Linked DNA regions of Homo sapiens: region 1 is linked to region 2. The links are contacts of gene promoters, found by promoter capture Hi-C in blood cells and fetal thymus (Javierre and others, 2016). All regions are on one chromosome and are shown on one strand. The core of a region is centred on a gene start or on the middle of the fragment in contact, and the rest is flanking DNA. Distances in the headings are between cores, read along the strand shown. Region 1 holds the start of EMSY-DT (EMSY divergent transcript). Region 2 has its middle 2.8 kb from the start of TRP-AGG2-4.

Evidence for each region. The method cuts DNA at HindIII sites, captures the fragments that hold promoters and counts their contacts. A CHiCAGO score of 5 or more calls a contact.
Region 1: a contact is called between the fragment with the promoter of EMSY-DT here and a fragment that was not itself captured in region 2, in 1 of 17 cell types (total CD8 T cells). The highest score is 5.7, in total CD8 T cells.

What each region holds. Positions count from the first base shown.
Region 1 is chr11:76,442,984-76,447,476 of GRCh38, forward strand. It overlaps EMSY-DT (EMSY divergent transcript), which reads right to left and starts at 1,697. Exons shown (of 2, transcript NR_186348.1): 1 at 1,295-1,697. It overlaps EMSY (EMSY transcriptional repressor, BRCA2 interacting), which reads left to right and starts at 2,035. Exons shown (of 22, transcript NM_001300942.2): 1 at 2,035-2,145; 2 at 3,917-4,025. The coding sequence starts at 3,956. RefSeq lists enhancers at 1,040-1,675, 1,676-2,312, 2,013-2,242, 2,443-2,492, 2,533-2,602 and 1 more. The HindIII fragment of the contact is 4,130 bases long and covers 1-3,648 here.
Region 2 is chr11:76,230,480-76,234,900 of GRCh38, forward strand. No RefSeq gene overlaps it. Among named protein-coding and RNA genes, the nearest start is that of TRP-AGG2-4, 2.8 kb to the right of the region's middle. RefSeq lists enhancers at 1-73, 2,913-3,459, 4,007-4,421. The HindIII fragment of the contact is 3,049 bases long and covers 770-3,818 here.

The DNA.
Region 1 (4,493 bases), core at 447-2,946, 210 kb after region 2:
CGAGTAGCTGGGATTACAGGCACATGCCACCATGCCCAGCTAATTTTTGTATTTTTAGTAGAGGTGGGCTTTCACCATGTTGGCCAGGCTGGTCTTGAACTCCTGACCTCAAATGATCCACTTGCCTCAGCCTCCCAAAGTGCTGGGTTTACAGGCGTGAGCCACCATTTACTTATGTGTGACTTTAGGCAAGCTATTTTGCTTCTTTCCTAGACTTTAGTTGCCTCCTTTGTAATTAGAGATAATAAAAGTTTCCACCTCATAAAGTTGTTCTAAGGACTGAATTACTATGTAAAATGCTTAGACCAGTATGTGGCACTTAGTAAGCACAAGGATTGACTATAATAATTCATCACTCATATGCTACTTCTTAAGGTCAGAGTCAGTTTTATAAGCCCCTTGTCTTTCGATTTGTACTCCATTGTAGAGGAGTAGACATTCATTGTCATTTTGACATTCACTGTAGAGGAAAGGACATTTGGAGGTCAGAAGACCTGGGATTACAAAGCCTAGCTCTCTTCCAATTCCTAGCTCCGTGAAATTTGGTGAGTCCTTGGTACATCTATGTTTTTCTCATTCATAGTATGAAAGACCTTAATCGTACCTGTCACACTGAAATGTTGCGAGGCTCAAATCAAATAATATATGTTAAAGTACAAAAATCCTCTATGAAGATTTCACTTACTATCTTTCCAAGAGTTCTTAAGCAACTGGATGCATAGGAAGGTCAGGGAGACAGCGGAGGGAGGGCCTGGTGATTAATATGTTCCACTTTACGATTTTCTGAAGGTGTAGGTTGGGTTTCAACAACAGTGACTTTCCTAGACCTCGGAGGGTATTTTTAGCTAATGGGCAAATAGTAGTAGGAAACTTAAATGCTGTTATTTACCTTCTCTTCCTAACCTACAGTTCCACTCAAGAACATGAAGAGTCTCATACGTTTGTATAGTGGTTCACAACTTACAACGTTTACGTGGTGCATCACAAGATCCCTATAGGGTAGTATTAACCCAATTTTTCAAGAAGGAAACTATGTCTGGAAATTGTAGAATGCACATTAAAAACTCTTTCTGACGAGCGTTTCTACCGGATCCGATGTTACCCAAAGTACAAAATTTAAAGAGGGAAGTCAATCACAAGATTTCATTGAATCTTCAGTATCAGGCAACTGGCTTCTATTTTATGGCCGCAAATAACTATATATTGGGCCCCTTTTCTCACCTGTAAAATAGGAACGAAAAGACCTTCTCCACAAATAAGATGAAATAAGAACAAAGGCTGAGGGTGAACCTACCACGTCGTAGGGCCTCAAATAAATTCCTTCTCCTTCTTGCCCTTGACAGAGATAGCACGAGATATCACTACCATTCCCACTTCACACGTGGAGGAAATCCAACGCGAGAACGCTCGGATTTCCCCTTCTTTACTTGCAACAACTCCGTAACCCGCAAATCGGCTACGGACAACTGCGATGTCCACTATGTTAGTTCTCGTAGCGTGGATTCTCTCTCCTCAAGATGCCATCTGGGGGGCTAGAGGCCACTAATAATTGCCCTCACGATCGAAGAAACTCGATCCTAATCCTCGACGGCACTTCAGGAACAAAGCTGCTCTCCCATCGTCCCTAACCTCACTACCGTAAAGGTCGCAGCAGAGCCCCTGCTCCAACCGCTAGCGCCATCTTGGCCGCTACGTGTGACGCCACACGTAGCAGAGAGCGCAGCCGATTGGCTGGGAGACGGCAGCCCAGGAGAGGCGCGCGAAGCCAGAGACAGGAGGGTATGCAGGAGAAACCAAGGGAACTACAATCCCGGCCTTCCTTGCGCGTACGACAGCAAACCTGGAGCGAAAGAGGTTGGAGTTTGGATTCGGACCACAACTCCCAGCACCCTCCGCGATGTCTGTCCTTTTCTTTCATAACGCGGAGGAAAAGAAGGACAAGATGAATGGAGGCCTTTTGGTGTTTGTTCTCCGAAAGGCGGGAAAAGCGAACTACACCTCCCGACTGGCCGCGCGCGGCTGCGCCTGCGCCCTGTTACCTGTCGCCATCTTGCCCCTTCAGAGGCACCGCAAACAAACCCAATTCCTGGTGTCCCCTAGTCTTGGCGGAGGAGCCTTTTAGATGAGCCCCGAAAGGCCGGGCAGGTGGGTGACTCTCAGGCAGGGTCCTGGGAAGAGCTGGCAGGCCAGCCAGGCTAGAGGAGCGCCGGGCCAAGCATTCGGAGCCCGGCTTGGGGCTCCCAGCCCCATCCTCCGTTGTTTCCTAACGGGATCGTGGGGCTCCCCGGGGTGGACTCAGGGGGACTCTGGCTGGCCTGGTGCTGGGACTCTGGGGGTTTAGCTCTGGGAGACTCCCGGTGAGTCCAGGTCGTCTGGCTGGGTATCCGCTGGCTTACTCTCTCTCGGTTGTCCTCTCCGCTGGGGAGGGAGTGAGGCGCGGGTGCCGGCCGGGACCCCTGACAACAGCTACTGGCCCAGAGGGGCTTGGGTCGTGGACTTGACATTGGGACCGGCGCCGAGAGGTCCGGGTGAGGAGCCTGGGCTGGCTGCTCTTGTTGTGGTGCTGCTAGGGAGTGCGTGTTTGGAGAGGGGGCGGGGCGGGCTTGTCTCCTTGACACTTGAGTGGGGAAGGATCCTACAAGATCCTGGTTCCCCGAGCGGGCTCCGGAAACTACTGCCCGGGTTTCCGATGCGTTGCGGCCCCGCTCTGGGGTCCCCTGGCTAGGACGCGCCGGGATGCCGTGACGTGGTGCTCGGTTCGAGCAGTCGCCGGCCGCCTCCAAGATCCTGTCGGGAGGCGGGGACTGGCTTGTGGAGGGAGAGGATTCCTTTGGCTCTGCCCCTTCTTCCTCCTCCCCACCCCTTTTCTTTATGTCATACTGCCGGCTGGGGCGCGCAGTCCAGTTCTTCTTGCCTTGGGTTTGTTCTGAGCTGAGAGGACTATGGGAAGTAGGGGGAGGGGGGCTCACCTCGGGACACAGAGTTGGAGTTAGCAGCCCCAGCGCCTGGAACGGGATATAGCAGTTATTTCGGTTCGGTGTCTGACTTCTAGGCTAGACAGTGAGCTCGTTCATTCATTCATTCATCCATTCGTTTTGCTCAGTCGCGTCAACCATTCACTTACCCATTTAACAAATACTTAGAGCGGCTCTACTCTGTGCTAAGCAGGTATTGCGCGTGCCCCCAGAGCCGTGTCTTTTTGTCTTTTACACTAGGAAATTCCCAGTTCTAAGTAAGTTCCTGGCAGCTCAACTGTTGGTAAATGGCTGTTTAATAACTACAGGATCAAAATTCATATTCCATTAAGACTTGAGAGAGTATATATATATGTGTGTGTGTGTATATATATATGTATATATATATGTGTATATATATATATGTATGTATCGTTCCAATTTTAGTATATGTGTTGCTGAAGCGAGCACGAGGAGTTATTTATTAAGTTTCTTTAACTTGCTAGGAGCTTTACAAATTTTATCTCATGTAATTCATAAATGAGGAAGCTGACAGGAGTCAACTTGCCCCAGGTTGGTAGTACCACCTGTTTATTAAATGAAATGCCAGCCACTATGAAAGAACTTTATATATAGTGTTCTTTAATACGCGTAACAAACTGGGTGGTATTACCTCTGTTTTATAGATGTGTAAAGCTTAGGCTTAACCAGTAAGTTGAAAAGTTGGGACTAGAAACCTAGAGGTGTCTGGCTCTAAAGCCTGTGTTCTTTCCACTGTGATAGTTCAAATGACTTAATTCTTGATTTCTCAAAAGTTGGAAAGTGTGGTGGTGAGAAAGGATTGTAAAATAGTAATATCTTTTTGGTTTACTTCTTAGCCTGTGACTGGATCTCCAGGTGAGTGGCCCCTTGAATGTACTTTGGTACTTTGGTAATTTGACTTTTTTTTTTTGTTCTGGTAGGGAGGACAAGCTCTTTGGGGCTACCAAACAGAAGCAGCAATGCCTGTTGTGTGGCCAACCCTTCTGGATCTCAGCAGGGATGAATGCAAAAGAATTCTTCGAAAATTGGGTATGACGTTCATTGTTTGTTTTTTACCTCTCTCTGATACCTTTTTTCCCTTTCTGCCTAGGTCATAGCTGTTTGCATGGATGTCATATCTCACGCTACATCAGAAATTCTTTGGAGATACAGTTCCCATCTTACTCATTGTTGTTTCCCTCAGTGCCTAACATAGTGCTTTGTAAATAGTAGGTGTGTGAATTGTAATAATACTAGTAGCTAAGATTTATTGAGGGCTACTTGGCTATTCTGAGTCTTTTTTATACAACATCTAATTTAAATATTTTAAGAATTAGCTTTGTCCTTTGAAAGCCTAAAAGGTAGGTGTTTTTTGTTTGTTTGTTTTGTCTCGTCTCCATTTTACAGATGAAGCTTAGAAGCCAAGGTAATGGTGATAGACATGGAGTCAGTATTTGAACCAGGGAGTATGCTTTCAGTCTCACTTTAACATACTCTTAACCTTCATGATTGTATGTG
Region 2 (4,421 bases), core at 1,044-3,543:
GGGGTCCCCAGAGCCTCTGGGAGACCATACGTCCCCCCAGCCCCTCATGGCCACACCTCACCTGGTCTTCGTTTGCTCTGTGACTCTGTCTGGGGTAATTCTCGCCAAGCAGGGTCAGCCCCTGGGGAGCAGGCCGCTAATGAGCTTCAGATGCCGGGGCCAGACTCGGTCTTGCAGCAGGCAGAAGCTCAGATGCTTTGGCTGATTTAGGATGCCTGGCCAGTGGGGATGGCTCGGAGAGGACACCTCCCCTCCCTTCACAGGTTACCCCACTCCTGACTTGCACTGGGCACAGCAGGTGCCAGTGTTTAACCCCCAAACCCCAGCCAGGGCAGTTGTTTCAAGATCCGGAAAAGGACAGACAAGCTGGAGGACAGATGCATTTCCATCACTTGGGAACTTAGTTCTTCTTCTCCCAGGACTTTTCTGGGTCCTGAGCTGGTGTTTCTACCAAGGTAGCAGCAGGAAGGGGGAAGAGAGAGGGACAAGCTGCTTTCTGATAGCCAATCACGCACACTCTGGGCTGGGTACAAATGTCATCTTCTCCAACCCTCACAGGAACCCCACAAAGTTCCTGAGGTGAGGACTGTCACCAAGCACTTCACAGGAGGAAACAGAGGCTCAGAGAGGGGAGATGATTTGCTCAAGGTTACACAGCCCCTGAGTGGCCAAACTAGGGTTCCAGCCCACCTCTGTCAGAGCCCACACTCCACCTGCAACATGCTGGGATGTTTCTAGAAGACCAGAATGGTATATATTGTGATCTCCAAGCTTTGTGAATGGTGAGGGCCTGTGGCCACATGGGTTTCAGACACTCAGGCTGCCTCTGCAGCTGACTTACTCCCTGATCTTGACAAGGCAGCAGATTTCACATCTACAAAATGGGGATCATCATCACAAGTTCAGGTGAGGTAATGCTAACTGTCATCATCACATTCTCAGCCATGCCCAGAACACATTCTGGGAGCCAGACTCACTGCCAGAGGCTTTTTGTCGGGGAGCTTTAAAAAGCGTGGATGCCAAAGCTCTGCTACCTACTAGCTGTGTGACCCTGGCCAAGTTACTGTGCCTCTCTGTGCCTGCATTTCCTCATCTGAGGAAATAAATGAGGATAATATTAGTTCCTATCTCAGAGTTGGTGTAGAGTTAGGTGCGTTATAAAGGGATTAGAAGGATGCCTGGCACAGGGGGTGCATCTAGCACGTGTGTTAGCTAACACTGGGCTCGACCTTGTGAGACACGTGTTGTTTTTCCCAAAGTAGCAATGTGGAAACTGAGGTCATGCAGCACAGTGATTCTCCAACTGAGTGTGCAGAGTCACATGGAGAGTTTGTTAAAATCCTAAGGGCTGGGCCCACTGGAGCATTAAGTCTGGGTTGGGGCCTGAGAATGTGCATTTCTAGCATGTTCCAGGTCACGCTGAAGCTGCTGGTGTGGGGCCCACACTCGGAGACCCACTGCTGTGGTGGGCCTGGGTATGGCTCCTGGTATGCGGGGGCCAGCTAGTTCCATACATGATCCGGTGAGTGAGCAGGTGAGTGAATGCACGGAGCAGAAAGGATGTTGGACTCTAGTGATCCTTCATGGCTCTCTCTCTCCTCTCTCAGCCCCGAGGGTTGTGGCTCATCCCCTTCACATCTTCTCTGAACCTGAATTGGGAAGATCCCCACCACACTGTCCCCCACACCCCATGGCAGAGGGCAGCGTGCTTGCTGTGGCCACAGGCTGCATAAAGGGGCCTGTGTGCTGGCTGCTCACCTCCCACTGTGCGCCCAGTGGTTTTCTATTTCAGTTGCTGTAAAAATATCACCTTTGATCTCAGCCTGTGGCTCTTAAGAAAAAAAGAAGAAACCACCAACAGGCTGGGTTTTCATTCTCCCCTGGCCCCGCCCTGCTCTCACCTCAGCTCCCAGCTCTCTCCCCTCCTTCCATTCCACCCCATTCACCCTCTCCTCTCTGCATCACAGCCCCCTGGACCCGGGGCACCTTGGGAACCCGTGGGCCCTTCTCTCTCTATGTGTCACCCCTTGCCCCCGCGCGGGGCTGCCTGCAGGAAGAACAGTATAAATAAGGGTGTGTGTAGAGGAAGACCACCCTCTCCCCTCCTCCCTGTCTCCCTGCCCCTTCCCCTCTGCTCCAAGTTCCCCTGCTTGGCCAGGTCCAGGCCTCTTCTCCAGCACTGTCAAGCACGTGGTATCCATCATAACCCTGCATCTGTGGAGGCTTGGGTCCTCCCAGAGTGGAAAGAGAAGAGCGAGGGGCCTAAATATTTAGATCACACCATCTACTCAGGGACCCCTCAGCCGCTCAGAGATGCCTGGAGGAGTGGTCTTCAGGCCTGATGGTTCCAATATCCCACCTCCTGGCTCAGCAGGCAGACAGACAACCCCCTCTCCTTGACCCCAAGCCCCCCACACGCCCCCCAACACACACACCCCTTTCCTTTCAGCAAACTCTGGGGAGAGGCACATGCAGCCCTCCTGCCCCCCTAGGGTGGTCCTGCATACTCTGGCCTCTGTGCCCTGACATTCTTTTTTTTTTTTTTTTGAGGCAGGGTCTCACTCTGTCACCCAGGCTGGCTGGAGTGCAGTGGCGCGATCTCCGCCTCCCAGGTTCAAACGATTCTCATGCCTCAGCCTCCCAAGTAGCTGGGATTAAAGGCATGCCATCACACCTGGCTAATTTTGTAGTTTTAGTAGAGATGGGGTTTCGCCATGTTGGCCAGGCTGGTCTCAAACTCCTGACCTCAAGTGATCTGCCCGCCTTGGCGTGAGCCACCCCGTGCCCTGCCTCCCTGACATTCTTGAGCCTACTTGCTCCACGCAGGCCTCTTAGCCAGAACTTTTCTGGTTGGAAAGTCACCTTCTCACCTACTGGAGCCCTTCCTGCCCTGCTACCCCACTGGCTAGTGAGGTCATCTCCAAGGGTCCCAGCTCTGGCAGAGGGACCAAAGAATCCCACCACCTCCCTAAGAAGTTTCTTGGCTGACAGGCATTTTGTGCCAATGGAGGGGGCAAGCAAGCCTTGAACCTCTGACTCACGCCAGGCTTTGAGCTGTTACGGTGTCTTTTTTTGGCTTTGGGTTTTACAGAAAGACAAAGTACCACTCATTCAACAAACGCTTTACAGGTCATCTGCATTGGGCCCTGTGCTGACATGGCCACTCCTCAGGGAACCCTCCCTCACACTCTTGTGGGTAGAGACACAGATGTGTGCAGGGGTCAGGCATCCAGGCAACAGGGAGTGCAGGGGCTGGGGGCACTTGGAGAGGTGTCTGCCTGGAGGTGGAGGTGGTGGTGCAGAAACCGCAAGGCCTGGAATGTGCAGGAAGCTGGGGGCAGCCCCAGCTGGAATGAGCAGCTTCCACTGGAGCCATGGCTGGAGTGTTCACGGAGTGAGGAGGGCCTGAAGAGAGGTGAGTGGGGAGGGGTCAGGCCTCAGAAAGCCCAGGTGGCAGGTAAAGAGCTCAGCCATTGCTCCCAGGGTGGAGCCACCGCAGGGTTTGAAGAGACTGTGGGTGTGGGACTGTCCATGGGGAAGGCCTGTCTGGAGGCACAGAAGGCCCGGGCAGAGGATGTAAGGTCCTGGGTGTGTGTCCAGGCCATAGCCTCATTTAGCAGTAACCACAGTCCGCCAGGGCCCAGACTGAGCTCCTTGCAGACCAGTCCACAGCCTTGGGCTAGGCAGAGGGTGCAGCCAGTGTGGCAACCACTGGGCAGGGGGTTCAGGAGGCAGGGTTGACTCATCAGTGTCCCCAGGGCCCAGCCCGGGGGTGGGGCAGAGCAGGCGCCAGTGGAAGTGTGTTGTGGAGTGAAAGAAGCTTTACAAAGGCTTCCAGCGACTGACTGAAGGTATTTCTTCCTGCCCGCACATCCTCAGACCTGGGAATAAGGAAACGTGAGGCTCCAGCCAGCTCCTGAAGGCGCAGGACATAGCTGAAAGGAGTTTGGAAAAGGGCCACTGGGCAAAAGTCCTTCCAGGGCGTCACAGTCTCAGTTTCCTCATCTTGAAGTCAGGGTGTGTGGGGGGTGGAAAGGGGTGGGGAGGGAGAGAGAGCGCAACGGAAATTGGCTGGACTGATCTGCACCGCTGGCTCTGCACTGCTAGTAGCCTTGTGATGGAGGCCAGCACAGCCACTACCTTCCGCTCTCCTACGGGGGACAGGGCGCGGTGGTGGGGAGCTCCCAATTCTCTCTGGCAGGCAAGAAGGCAGACCTTGTGACCCCGTTTTCACCAGGGGGGCATGCTGAACACATTGGCTACGTGTCCCAAGGACACTGAGTCACGAGGTGGAAGAGCTCCATGGAACCCGTTTCTCGGAGTGGGTCTGGCACCCCTGTTCCCCACAGAGGCTTCTCGGGGAGCCTAGAACCCATGGACCGTGGACGCAGAGGCGAAGCACGGGAAACCGTGCCAGGCGC